2 separate regions of the Homo sapiens genome follow, and region 1 is linked to region 2. The links are contacts of gene promoters, found by promoter capture Hi-C in human tissues and cell types (Jung and others, 2019). All regions are on one chromosome and are shown on one strand. Each heading gives the region's core, a stretch centred on a gene start or on the middle of the fragment in contact. The rest is flanking DNA. Distances are from core to core; before and after follow the strand shown. Region 1 overlaps IQCE (IQ motif containing E). Region 2 holds the start of NUDT1 (nudix hydrolase 1).

Evidence for each region. Contacts are between HindIII fragments. The study calls those that stand out against the background at their distance.
Region 1: a fragment that was not itself captured here is called in contact with the fragment with the promoter of NUDT1 in region 2 in 1 of the 25 tissues and cell types used here (stomach).

The regions. Positions count from the first base shown.
Region 1 is chr7:2,609,894-2,617,152 of GRCh38, forward strand. It overlaps IQCE (IQ motif containing E), which reads left to right. Exons shown (of 22, transcript NM_152558.5): 22 at 151-4,835. The coding sequence ends at 269. LOC107986760 (a long non-coding RNA gene) reads right to left here. Exons shown (of 3, transcript XR_001745069.2): 3 at 4,690-5,083. Among named protein-coding and RNA genes, the nearest start is that of TTYH3, 18 kb to the right of the region's middle. RefSeq lists enhancers at 180-753, 754-1,327. The HindIII fragment of the contact is 7,391 bases long and covers 514-7,259 here.
Region 2 is chr7:2,240,827-2,247,525 of GRCh38, forward strand. NUDT1 (nudix hydrolase 1) reads left to right here and starts at 1,400. Exons shown (of 4, transcript NM_002452.4): 1 at 1,400-1,430; 2 at 3,737-3,900. The coding sequence starts at 3,749. MRM2 (mitochondrial rRNA methyltransferase 2) reads right to left here and starts at 1,379. Exons shown (of 3, transcript NM_013393.3): 1 at 1,336-1,379. The coding sequence starts at 1,343. RefSeq lists enhancers at 1-763, 5,130-5,179 and a silencer at 1,086-1,305. The HindIII fragment of the contact is 10,120 bases long and covers 1-6,138 here.

The sequences.
Region 1 (7,259 bases), core at 2,959-5,458, 370 kb after region 2:
CCTGAGGGCCTGTGTGCCCCATGGCTTACTGCTTCTCGGGGTGGCTGCCGTCTTGCCTGCCGGGGAAGAGCAGACAGTGTAAGGGTGTCCGTGGTGGCAGCCCCTGAGGTCAGCGTGGCTGACCCCTCTCCCTGTGGTTCATTTCTGCAGACCCCTCTCCCTCAGGGCCACAGGCCTTGGCACCTCTACCTGGGGATGACGTCAACTCCGATGATTCCGACGATATTGTCATTGCACCGTCTCTGCCCACGAAGAACTTTCCAGTTTAGGTCCCCGTCACTGTCTCCACGCCGTGATGGCAGCGCTGCCGAGGACATAGGAACCACGACTGGAAAGATAATTTATCGTGTTAGGAGAAGAACGATGATACCTACTTAACACCTCAGCATCTGCGTCGTGTCTCTTTGTGCTTTTGTTTGTGGAAGGAGACCCAAATGCCTTTACTTTATTCTCTGGGGAGGGCCAGCGGCTCGCATCCCCCTCATCTCCAGCTGCAGCTCGGATGGTGGATTTTCAGTGCCAACAGACACATCTGCCGTGAACTCGCAGATGCCAGGGAGCCCTGTAGTGACACGTTCTCTGACAGCACCTTGCCGCCTGCCCACGACCTTGACCGTGAGGAGCTGCTATCCGCAACCAGCGCCGACACCATGCCCCCTCTTCCTGGTGACACCCTCAACAACCAGGATTTGCTCGATCTCAGCCCAGCAGGCCAGGCAGACACACCCCGCTGTGCCTTAGGAAGGTGTGAGACCGGCTTCCCCCATCCCCACAGCAAAACACGGCCTGTCCCAAGCCAGTGAGGAGCTAAAGACACCCAGGTCCCCAAATGATCTTACTCCATGCCCCACCCGCTCACACCGTCCTTTCCCGTCACCCTTGCTATCCCCTGGAGCACTGCCCTCCAGAGCTGCCCTTCCCAGGAAGGAATTTGGTTGGATTCTGTCACTGTGGAGACCAAGATTTTTTAAAATTCCCAATTACAAAAGCAGCATCACACTTGCTTCTGAGAACAGCAGGGTGATGTCTGTTCCCAAGCTGGTGGCGGGAGCCTTAGCCTGTGTGGGGCCACCCGGGGAAGAGGAGGAGAGGAGGGTGAGGAGGCAGGCTCGCCGTTCCAAGGGACAGCATAGGCTCGTGGTGGGGCGTGTTGCATCTGGTGTCTGGGACAGTCCCCGTCACCCCATGTGTGCGGCCTCTGCACTCCCAAGCTCCATGGCTGGGCTGGGCTGGGCTGGGCTGGGCTGGGCCGGGCGTGCGGAGCCTGTGGAGCCAGCAGCTGCAGAGGCCTAGGAGGGAGTTCCTGGGGGAAGCGCACAGTGTCCAGTGCCCATCTCTTGCTTGTGTGTGAGATTAGCCCTTGCTGGGGCGTCAAGAGGAAGAGCCTTAGACCTGGGCGGGCCTTCAGGGGCATCTAGACCCCTGCACAGCCCAGGCCTGGTGTCTGCATTTCCACAGCACCCCTGTGGGGACTCCTGCCGGGGCTGGCCGCTGTCTCAGGAGAGACCCAATGGTTAGAAAGCCCCTTTTTACACAGCTGACAGCTTCTCCCAAGGCTTCCGTCCACGGGGACAGGCTTAACCCCTGGGCGCCTTTTCTGCAGCATGGCGGCCTTCTGAGTCACCTAAGCTGAGCCTGGGTCATTCTCTGTGGCGGTCAGAAGGCCGATGGCCCCAACACAGTGGCTTGTGAAAGGGAGAGAGGAGGCTCTGCATGTCCACCTGCTCTATGGGAGGAGGACACAGGTGTCCCCAGCCCAGCCTGTTCTCTCCCAGTCACTCAGGGATGGGGCCACCCAAAGTGCAGGACCCGCCCCACCCTGCGGTTCGAAGCCTGGCCCCTGTCTCCACTTAGCTTCTGTTTCTGCAGTGGGTGGAAGCGAGTCAGCGGGGGGCCTGGCTTGTGTACGTGTTTTCCTTATTTGGTCTGTGGGTTGCCAAGTCCATTTTTTTTTCCACTGAACTGGCTGGTAACTTGATGGACTGTGTAACTGACACAGGCCCTCTTTAGACCCCTGCCTTCACCCCACCCGCCCGGGTCCACTCCCTGGGGCGCTGTCCCAAGCCATCCCTGCTTGCCAGCTCAAAGCTTCAGGTCCTAGGAGCCAGTCCACCTCGAAAGCCCTGAGAAAGTGAGACACCTGCACATTCGCTGGGGGAGACCCTCCGTTCTCTTGTGGCAGCTGCTCCCACTTGTTAAACCAAGCTGTTTCTGCGGGACGTGCTCACTCTTGGGAACCAGTGGCCTAGAGCTTTGGGTTACAGGCATGGAGAGGGCTTTCCTGCCTCAGGCTTGGAGGCCAATGTTCCATACATAAACCGCCATGTCCTCTGGTGCAGCTGGGCTGCTCTTTTAAAAGCCAGCATCCATCTTGAAGCTCGCTGGGTAAATGGCAATGCATTCTCAAGCCAGTGTCTTCAGCTGATGCCCAGTGTCCAGTGCTGGTCACCAGTCCCCTTTGCTGGGTACAGCCTGCCTGGCTGTTCTGTGGTCCTGGAACGCTGCAGTGTGGTTTTGTTCCATGGAGACAGTACCAAGCGGAGAGGCCTCCTTGCCCACGGCCCCAGGGCCTGGGGGCCAGGGGTTCTGGCCCTGCGGGGACTTAGGCAGGAGGGGAAGAGAAGCCCATGGAGCCATGGGAGGGGTGAGCTGTGGGCGGGGCCTAGTCATGGGAGGGGTGAGCTGTGGGCGGGGCGAGCTGTGGGTGGGGCCTAGCCATGGGAGAGGTGAGCTGTGAATGGGGCTAGCTATGGGTGGGGTGAGCTGTGGACAGGGCCTAGCCATGGGAAAGGTGAGCTGTGGGCGGGGCCTAGTCACGGGAGAGGTGAGCTGTGGGCGGGGCCTAGTCATGGGAGGGGTGAGCTGTGGATGGGGCCTAGCCATGGGAGGGGTGAGCTGTGAGTGGGGCTGAGCCATGGGAGCAGCAAGCTGGTGGAGTGGGCTGGGCGGAGCTGTGGGGGCTGCTGGCAGGGCCTAGGAAAGTAGACAACTCCCGGGGGAGACGAAGTAGAGAGTGAGTCCCCAAGAAAGGGACTCCTGCCCCAGCGTCAAGTGCCAAAGCAGGCCCCATCTACCACTTCAGGGTCGACGTTGGTGGCAGGTGTTGTTCACGGTGTACTGATTGTCACTGCAACACCTCCACATCACCTTGAACTTCAAGAACAGCAGCAAAGCTGTATCTGCTATCAGAGGCTGTTAGGTAGTCCAGCTTTAAAATAACACACTCTTTCTCTATCCCATGCCCTTTAAACAAGCAGCCACAGGAGATGTCAGTCTCCAGGGCCTGGCCCCACTGTGTTGACAGCAGTCACGTCTGTTGAGCTGACACTGCTGAGGCTGAAGCTGGCCCCGTGCAGGTGGCTGGTGAGCCACAGGTGCAGTACCCGGAGGTGTGCTCTCCCCTAGAGGCCTGTCCCCAACTCCTCCCCTAGAGGCCTATTCCCGCTGCTCACAGACCTCAGCAGAGGCACCAGCTGGAGGGCTCCAGGGACATCCTTGGAGATACAGGAGGCTTTCCTGGCACAGGGCACAGCTCTTAGGAGGCCTTTGTAGGACGCTGTCTCCCCAGCGTGTCCTGCTCATCCAGGATGGGGAGAAAGAGGAGGAGGCCCCAGGCTCAGAAGCCAGGGACAGACTGCCGACGATTACCAAACTGAATCCAGGCAGTGCCATGACCCTGGGTGTCCCTTGGTTCACATCACCCACCAGACAGCTGCGGAGAGAGTGCAGGGAGGGGCTGGGACCAAACAGGCCAGAAACCAGCAGAAAAGAGGCAGAAGTGAGGTGGGTGTGCCTGGGGCACGAAGCCAGCGCCGGGGGGATTTCAGTGGAGCCTTACAGCCAGGCTCCGTGCGGACTGTGATGCCAGAGAGGCGTGCAGCCTCTGGGCAAGTCGGGAGAGGGCTTGGGTGGTCCCCACAAGGCAGAAGAGGTGGAAGGGCCAGAGAAGACCACCAAGACCACCGTTCCCGCAGGCCTGGGGTGAGTGACCTGACTGAGACTAGCGGGCAGAGCCAAGCAGGGCTAAACTCCAACCCAGGGCCCGGTGTTGGACAAAGTAGCTTTTTCTTTGCTCGTTTGTCTGTGTATTAAGAAGAGACTAAAATAGCCAAACGACGCTGGTCGCATGCGCTGGCTGTGGTCTGTCTGCTGAATGTCTATTTTTGTCTCCTGACGAGACGTGAGGACCATGCCCTTGATCCCTCCGATGGACCAGAAACCCCCTTCCTTGCAAAAAAAAGGCAATTGAATTAGGAAAAGATAGCCCAACCTAGCTCAGATCCACCAAGATAAGCACAGCAAAGCTTGGCTGCATTTTTGAGGAATAAAAACCTGCAGAAAGCACCGATAACCTTCAAGATCTGAATGAGATTCTATTATAACCCGTCTAAACGATTGCAAAATTCCTCCTTTGGTTTTGGAAGCAGCGTTTGCTCTCCCGTGGCTCGGATTCTCTGAGGACCAGGGAGTTGACACACAAACCCCGCCATGGGTCCGAGCCAGCTATTTCTCAAGGCTCCCACCTCGCCAAGCTCCCAAGGGCCTGCTGGCAGTGCCTACGCTGTGCCAACTACCCTGTCTGGTACAGACCACGGCTGGGTAAGCACCCTTAAAAGCAACAGAAATGACGTCTGGAAGCTGAAATGTGAAACTGTCAAGATGGCTTAGGAGAGGAAGGAGTGGACCCGCTGGTCTTTGGCATTTTGTATTTAGAATTATTCTAACTTTATACATAATGTATAGGCCGATCTTTTGGAAGGGATAAGGTTTTCATTCTTGTGCAACTCATTATTCTCATTATTGGCCTTTTAAATAAAAAGTTGTTTTGCAGTGTGCCTTGAGTGCCCCGTGAAGACTTCTCTTTAATGACCTCCAGGTGTGTTCCTGCCCCACGCACTCGGGCTGAACAAACGATCCGCTTCAGAAACCCCGCTTCTCTGGGCTTCTGGCATTTTGCCGTGGTCGTAATGCAGGCTTGGGGTTGGAGAGCCAGCTGGAGGGACGGGTCCCGCCGCCAGCTCCCTGCCACGCATGAACTCGGATACATCTGTTGACACCCCGGTCCCCCGTCGAATATCTATTCCTTAGATATGAGGACACAAAAATGTGCGTGCGTGAGGGAGTTATTTCTCCATATTTGATTTCATTTTTGTTTCAGGAGCAGGGAAAGAATAATTTACTGAGGAATCAAACACAGATGGAAACGACCAAAAGGAGCTGATATCTGGGTTTTGTTTTCCAATATTTTGTTGCATAGAACAAGGAGCATCTGTGGCTTTGTGTGCTTGTGGCTGCCTGCCCTGGGGCCCTAAATCCTGAGTGGAGTTTGTCCGAAGCCTCCACAGTTACTGTGGTTGGCTCTGGCATTTGCCCAAGCCTATTTTCTCTCTATCGATCTTATATGTGTGTGTGTGTGTGTGTGTGTGTGTGTGTGAAAATATATGTATATTTTTAAATTGAGATAGGGTCTTGCTGTCTTGCCCTGGCCGGAGTGCAGTGGTGCAGTCATAGCTCACTGCAGCCTCAAACTCTTGGGCTTAAGCAATCCTCTTGCCTCAGCCTCCCAGATAGCTGGGACTATAGGTGTGCACCACTGTGCCCAACCACTTTTTAAAAAATTTCTGTCACGCCTGTAATCCCAGCACTTTGGGAGGCCAAGGCAGGCGGATCACGAGGTCAGGAGTTCAAGACCAGCCTGGCCAATATGGTGACACCCCATCTCTACTAAAAATACAAAAATTAGCCGGGCATGGTGGCGTGCGTCTGTAGTCCCAGCTACTCGGGAGGCTGAGGCAGAATTGCTTGAACCTGGGAGGTGGAGGTTGTAGTGAGCCGAGATGGCGCCATTACACTCCAGCCTGGGCGACAGAGCGAGACTCTGTCTCAAAAAAATAAAAATAAAAATTCTGTAGAGATGAGGACTTGCTAAGTTGCCCAGGCTAGTCGAACTACTAGGCCCAAGTGATCCTCCCACCTCAGCCTCCCAAGTGGCTGAAACTACAGGTACGCACCTGGCTAATATACAAAATTTGAGGGGTGGGGCACAGTGGTTCGTGCCCGTAATCCCAGCACTTTAGGAGGCTGAGGCAGTGAATCACCTGAGGTCAGGAGTTCGAGGCCAGCCTGGCCAACATGGTGAAACCCCGTCTCTACTAAAAATACAAAAAGTAGCCGGGCGTGATGGCACATGCCAGTAATCCCAGCTACTCAGGAGGCTGAGGCAGGAGAATCACTTGAACCCGGGAGGTGGAGGTTGCAGCGAGCCATTGCACTCCAGCCTGGGCAAGAAGAGCAAAACTCCGTCTAAATAAATAAATAAAATTTTATTTTGGTGGAGGTTGCAGTGAGCCATTGCACTCCAGCCTGGGCAAGAAGAGCAAAACTCCATCTCAATAAATAAATAAATAAATAAATAAAATATATTTTTCTGGTAGAGATGGGGCCTTGCTATGTTGCCCAGGCTGGTGTCCAATGCCTCGCCTCAAGCGATCCTCCCACCTTGGCCTCCCAAAGTGTTGGAATTACAGGTGCGAGCCACCGTGGCCTGCCCCGAGCCCATCTTTACACTCCGATGGCCTGTGTGCTGTCCTGGCAAGCGGTTCATTTGCAGACTTGCACTTTGCAGACGAGCTGGTAGGGCCTGAGGGAGCCTGTGGCATTGGAGAGCATGGTGCACCAGGCACTCGCCCGCTGCAAGCTCGCTGCCCCCGCAGTCGCCAGCTGTGATCTCCCCTAGGGGTTCAGACCCAGGAGCAGAGAGGAGGCAGCCTGTGGGGGCTTCTCAGCTAGAACTGGCGAGAGGAGGAGAGAGAAGGTCCAACCTCAGGCCTCCACCCACCGTGGGCCGGGGTATGGATAGACATGGAAGTATGTGAGCGTGGACATCCATGCGCACGCGCACAGGCACACGGGGAGAACCCTCTTCCTCTTCCCCATCCAGCCCTCTGGTTTTTGGTGCTCCCAGACGTGCGCTGAGTGCATGAGGGCCTCCTCAAAGACCGAGTGAGGGTCACCACAAGCTCTTGCCAAGACAGTTTTAAATATGAGATTCCTCCAAGGTCCCTGGGGGACATAGGAAAAAAAAGAAGTAAGCCTCTGAGTCCCTCGCTCCTTTCAGCACTGCTGTCGGGCTTGGAATATGAATGACGGGCTGCAGAACAGGGTGGCGTGTCTCTGCGTGGGTGCCAGCTAATGGCCTTTGGCCAGCACCTCCCCACTGGATCCCGGGAGCAGGGCCCAGTGTCAGCCCCGAGGGCCAG
Region 2 (6,699 bases), core at 150-2,649:
TGGGATTACAGGCACACCTGCTACCATGTCCGGCTAATGTTTGTATTTTCAGTATAGATGGGTTCCACCATGTTGGCCAGGCTGGTCTCAAACTCCTGACCTCCGCTGATCTGCCCGCCTTGGCCTCCCAAAGTGCTGGGATTACAGGTGTAAGCCACTGCACCCAGGCATTTCTTTCTTCTTTTTGTTTTTTTAGAGACAGGGTTTTACTATTACCCAGGCTGGAGTGCAGTGGCATGATCACAGCTGACTGCAGCCACAGCCTCTGGGGCTCAAGTGAACCTCCCACCTCAGCCTCCTGAGTAGCTGAGACTACAGGTGTGTGCCACCACTTCCGGCTAATTTTTCTATTTTCAGTAGAGATGGGATTTCACCATGTTGGCCGAGCTGGTCTCGAACTCCTGACCTCTGGCGATCAGCCCACCTTGGCCTCCCAAAGTGCTGGGATTACAGGCGTGAACCACCTCACCCGGCCATTTTTGTTTTGCTATCATCCAGGCTGGAGTTGCAGTGGCACAATCACAGCTGATTGCTGCCATAACCTCTGGGTCTCAAGTGAACCTCCCACCTCAGCCTCCTGAGTAGCTGGGACTACAGGTGTGCACCACCATGCCTGGGCTAATTTTTTTTTTTTTTTTAATTCTTAAAAACCTTTTTTAGAGATGGCATCTCACTACATTGCCTAGGCTGGTCTCGAACTCCTAGGCTCAAACGATCCTCCTGCCTCAGACTTCCAAAGTGCTGGGATGACAGGTGTGGGCCACCAAGCCCGGTCTCTATGTCCATCTTTCTGATTTAAATAAATAAATAAAAGTTACCACCCTCATGGCTCCAAGGCCAAAGCTTCTAGCTTCTGCAACACCAAAGCGTGCTGACAAGCCAGGAGGCACTGACTGCTGACCGTGAGTCGCTGTCTTCCCCTCGCTTAAGGGGTCTCCCGGGAAAATGGCACAAGCCGGTCCCGGGGGCCAGGGCCCACTCGACAGCCCAGGAAGCGCGGGCAATGGAGCTACCCGGCCCAGAAGCGAAATCCCGCCCCGGGCTCGCCCCCGGCGCCTTGGATCTGGGCCCCGGCGCTGCGCCCCCCACCTGGACTCCGCCGCCGGCCCCGGCCTCCCCACGGCCCCGCCGGCCCTGCCCCTGGAGACCTGAGGGCGCCCTCCTCCCGGGGAACTGCGACCCGGAATCCTGGCCTCGCCCCTGTCGCGCTCGCTGAGTGCGGGGACGGTGCCCAGCGCTCGGCACCCAGCCCCGAGGCCAGGACCGAGGAAGGCGACCGGGCGGACCCCCAACCACTCCCGCTGTCTGCACGCGCAGCAGCAGCGCCCAGCTCACCCCGCCATTGGTGTTCCCCGCGCCTGCAGCGCGCCGCCGGAAGTGCCTGGCCTCACTTCCGGTCAGAGGCCACGCCCCCGGAAGCGGCGGTGCAGGTACGAAAAGCGCGCGCGGGGATTCCAGGAGTCGTGGTGACCAGGGAGGGGAGCCGGGCCAGCGGGCGGCAGGAGACTAGGGGAGCTGAGCCATGGGCTTGGGGGAGAGCGGGGCCGGGAGCTCGAAGGAGACCAGAAGAGCAGGGTCGGGGGCTCGAGGGAGACGAGGAGAGCGGGGCCGGGGGTTTGGGAGAGAGACAAGGAGAGCGGGGCGGAGGCTTGGGGGAGACCAGGAGTAAATCACAAAAATTTACTTTGGAAACCGTGGCTTCTGGCAGAAACAGATCAGTGTCGGGACAAAGTACACGGGCCTGGTGTGAAACTAAGCCACAAACCCATTTACCCTGTCTGACCTGCCTCCGCCACCAGGACCCAGTCTCAGTGAAATGGGAAAGGTTCCCTTGTCCTCCTCGAAGGGCGTGCGATGAGGATGTGGCTCACTTCTTCAGTGCCCCGCTTCTCAAGCCTCTAGGGGAACATACAGACAGGCAGGCTGAGGGGCTCCCACCCCACGGCAGTGTCTAGGGGTGAATGTTTGCAGCTCCTGAAGCCCCAGCAGGCATGTGTTAGAGGGTGCTCTTTCAGTTTAGCCTTGTAGGTGGCTTGTGTTAGTCAGCTGTTAGACTCCCTGCCTTATCGCAAGGACAGAGGGCTTTCTGTATCCCTAGGTTTCTTGCCTTGATGTACTGGAGCAATCAGATCACACGGCGGCTTGGAGAGTGAGTGCAAGGTTTTATGAGTGGAATTAGCCCTCAGCAGATGGGGGAGCCAGAAGGCAGTTGGAGTGGGAAGGTGATTTTCCCCTGGAGTCGGGCTGCTGAGCAGCCTGGGCTCTCCTCTGACCGCCCCTGCCAAACTCATGGTTCCATCAGTTGATGGCCTGCTGGTGCCTGTTGGTGTGCTTTCCACGTCCTCTTGACGTCCAGCGGCTTGTGTCTCTGCCCACTATAAAAAACCACTGGGGTTTTTTTATAGGCACAGGACGGGGACGTGGCGGGCTCGGGAAATGCAACATTTGGGCAAAAAAACAGAAATGCCTGTCCTCACCCAGGTCCCTGGGCACAGGCCTGGGTGTGGAGCCCTGGCCAGAGACCACGCCCTCCTCTACCCAGCACTTCCCTGCCCCCTTCCTTATCATCTGGTCCCTTTTCTCAGACACCACAACTTCCAAGAAGGATCACTGGTCCTGAACCCTGTGTCTTGTCCAGGTGTGGACCCCAGAAAAGTTGGTCCTGGCTGGGCGCAGTGGCTCACGCCTGTAATCTCAGCACTTTGGGAGGCTGAGGTGGGTGGATCGCTTGAGCTCAGGAGTTCGTGACCAGCCTGGGCAACGTGACAAAACCCCATCTCTACTAAAAATACAGAAATTAGCTGGGTGTGGCGGCTCATGCCTGTGGTCCCAGCTATGTGGGATGCTGAGGCAGGAGGATGGCTTCAGCCAGGGAGGCGGAGGTTACAGTGAACCGCGATCACGCCACTCTCCTCCAGCCTGGGCAACAGAGCAGGATCTTGTCTCAAAATAAATAAAGGAAAGTTGGTCCTGGCCCTCCAGCATTTCTCCAGGGTCCTTTTTTCAGCAGGGACCTGGCGGAGGCATCGCCCTCAGAGTCCTCTGGACCTGGACCTGCACACCTATGGGAGCAGGAAGGACCCTTGTGACTTCCAGTGGCCCCCCTGGGTGCCAGGTCCCACAGTAGCCACAGCAGGAGCAGAGTGGGTGGGGTATAAACTCCTATCACAGGAGGGAGGACTAGCCGGGCCTGGCTGGGTGGACCTGTGTCTACAGCCACACATTTCCTGGGAATCTGGAAGCCTGCTACAGAGAGGCCAGGTCCCACTAGACTGAAAGAAGTTCCTGTTAATCCAAAGGCCTGACCTGAGGACCACAGGATAAACTGCGTGGTTATTTTGGTGCCAATCAGGCACGGGGACTGTTGTTCCTCACTGTGTGCCTATAAGCAGGGGGTTCCTGGGGGTAGACGCAGGAGCAAGAGCACGCTCTGGAAAGGTGATGTTGTCCTCTGCACCTGAGTACTGACTTGTGGAGAAGGAAGGTAGCGCCGGCCTCTGCTCTGCTTGATCAGCCCTGCTGACCACTGGGTTCTGTTTCTACCCCAGAAAATCACTGGTTCAATGGCAGTTTTCCACCTGCCACAAGGGAAGCCACACGTGGCAGGGCTGGGGAGTTACAGCATACCCCCCCGCCCCCCACTGCCTCCCAGAGCACGTCCCCTTCCTCCTGGCCCCTGGCACGTGCTTCCTCCACGCACGTCATGGCTGACTCTGCCCTCTCACCTTCCTTTCAGAACCCAGGGACCATGGGCGCCTCCAGGCTCTATACCCTGGTGCTGGTCCTGCAGCCTCAGCGAGTTCTCCTGGGCATGAAAAAGCGAGGCTTCGGGGCCGGCCGGTGGAATGGCTTTGGGGGCAAAGTGCAAGAAGGAGAGACCATCGAGGATGGGGCTAGGAGGTAAGGATGGGGCAGGTCTGGCCATAGAACCGGCTTTCCCAGGGCACAGGGATTCGGGCTGTAGGGCCACACCCTTGGTTTCACCACTAAGAGCTAAGTGACCTGGAGCAGGGGGTTAAGCGTGAGCCTCAGTGTCTTCATCTCAGAATGAAGAACAGTCCGCAGCCCTTCGGACTCTTGTGAAGATAAAATGAGGAAATGAACTCGAAGGACTTAGAACGGTGCGCGGTGTGCGGTGCGTGCTGAGTGCGTGTTAGCTGTTGTGGTGCGGTGGTGCTGGGGGCTGCAGGGCGTATCTGGAAGCCTCTGTGCAGCAGCTTGAATTGAACCCTCCCAGCACCCTCACTGTTGCCGAAGGGCTCGTCAGTCACTTGGTTCCTCTGTCTGTTCAGTGGAGCTGATGATCGCTTTCATCTCACACTCGCTGTGCACAAAGCCTCACTGCATCCTCAACACAGCCAGCTTCACCTAGGAAGGAACTGAAGCCCAGAGAGGTTGAGCCGTTTACCCAAGATCACACAGTCCTCCAGACGCCCCTCAACCCTCACAGGGTAAATGAGATCATCTGTGTAAACATCGCTGCACAGACGTTAGCCCCCGTTCGTGTTTTTGTTCTGAGAAAGGTAGGCCAGCTTGCCTGGAGAGGAGAACTACAGAGTAAAGAGGGTCCTGGCACGGAGGAAAGCCAGGACGCTGCAGCCTAGTGGCTTTCCAATTTTTTCATCACAACCTGCAGTAAGAAATACGTTTTGTACTCTGATAGAGTGTACACACTCAGGTGTGCAGGTACAGCTAAAGTAAGTTGCAGTAGCCGCCCTTATTACATAAAAGGGGGCTCTACTTTTCCGATTCATTTCTCTTTTTTTCTCCAGAGGTGGGATCTCACCCATGGCACACTCTTGGCTCACTGCAGCCTCAAACTCTTGGGCTCAAACGATCCTCCTGCCTCAGCCTCACGAACAGCTGGGACCACAGGCACATGCCACCACGCTCAGTTCGTTTTTTAATTCTTTGTAGAGATGGTGTCTCATTAACTCCCAGGCTCAAGCGATCCTCCCTCCCGGGCCTCCCAGAGTGCTGAGATTGCAGGTGTGGGCCACTGGCTTGACCCTTTTTTTTTTTTCAATTGCAATCCACTAAGCCGATTTCCCGGGGTACATGGGTCCCAACCCTCAGTTTGGAGAGCCCTGTGTGTGCTTCCCCTCCAAGGCTTGGGACCCCAGACCGCAGCCACACGGACACGTTCGATCAGTCACTGTGGCAGGTGCCAGTGCGACAGGCTCTGTGCTGGGGGCCGCAGCTGGGGAGGAGGACCACTGGGTGTGAGTCGGGCATACAGCGTGTCCCTGCCAGGAGTGTGTGCAGAGCGACCACAGCACAGGAAACAGGAAAGGTGGCCCCGGGGGTTCTCTGCCCAGCCCTTTGTCTTTGATCTGCTAAGACTGCCCATCAGCTCATGGATTTCTGTAGCGCTGCTCTGTGTGGGGCCTGGGGACATGAGGAGGAACAGGTCAGTCCCTGCCTCTGTGGAGCTCTCGTGTCATCTGGCTGCCGGGTTCAGGAGACCTGCAGAAGGAGGTCTGGTCCATACCTCGTGGCCAGGGGCCTCCAGGAGAAAGGAAGGGAGAATAACTGGGCACCAGGAAAATGCTCTGAGGGCCTGACGTTGGCTGGGAGAGTGTGGAAGGAGGGAGGAAGGAGACATTTGCAGAAGCACAGAGGGCTGGAGGAGCGCCAGCTGTGCAGAGAAGTGGTGGGTGTGAGTGGAGCAGGCAGCGGTGCTGAGGAGGCTGGATGGAGGAACTCCAGGTGGCTGGATTTCCGCTTCTCGTCCTGCTGGTGACAAGCAAAGCACAGGCCCCCTCGGCAGCCCTGCTTTATTTTCTTCTGAACTTTGTCACGGTCGAAGGAACTTTCCTCCTACCCTCTGTAAATATTACACAAACAGAGGGACCATCACTCCAGACCCTCAAAGCTGAATACAGTGGTGGCTTGCTGTCAGACCAGGGTTTGAGGGGGGGAACTGAGGCACAGAGCCGGAAGCCTGTGACTTCCATCCTCGGGTGTAACCTGGAGACGGGGGTTTCACCATGTTGGCCAGGCTGGTCTTGAACACCTGACCTCACGGGATCCACCCGCCTCGGCTTCCCAAAGTGCTGTGATTACAGGCGTGAGCCACCGTGCCCAGCCGAGACCCTGTCTTAAAGAAAGAAAGAAAAAAATCCTTCGTTGGGGAGCATCTGCAAGCATGAGGAATGGGGGACACTGGAGCCAGACAGGCTGGTGCTTAGGGGTCCCAGGGCCCCGGGAACCCAGCAGCAAACAGCCTCGCCCTCAGGGGATGACGTACCATCAGCCACAGGCCACCAGCACGGCCCTGGGCTTCAGTACCTGCGAGTCTGAATGGATTTGCTCCTGGGGCAACCCCAGGCCCGTGCTGCTCAGGAGCGGGAGGCAGGGAGGAGCGTCGGCAGCCCGGTCTCTGGGGAGGCTGGTTCCTGCTTTATCCACGCAATACCCAGTCCTATTCTATCAGGAGGACCCCAAGATGGGCCCTAACTCCCAGGCCAAGAGCCGGTTTAGGCACCCTCCCCGCTTGCCTGCAGGGGGCAGGCCTGAGCGCCTAACCCCAGTCCAGAGGGCTGGACTCAGACCCTCCTCTGTGGGGCAGGGGACAGGCACGTAGGGAGTACTGAATTGTGGGGGTGTGCAGATTTGGGCTTCAGGCGCACAGTGTGAGCCGACCTTTCTAGACAGCATCCCTGGTCCCCAAAGACTAGCGAGGCCGGGGACACAGGA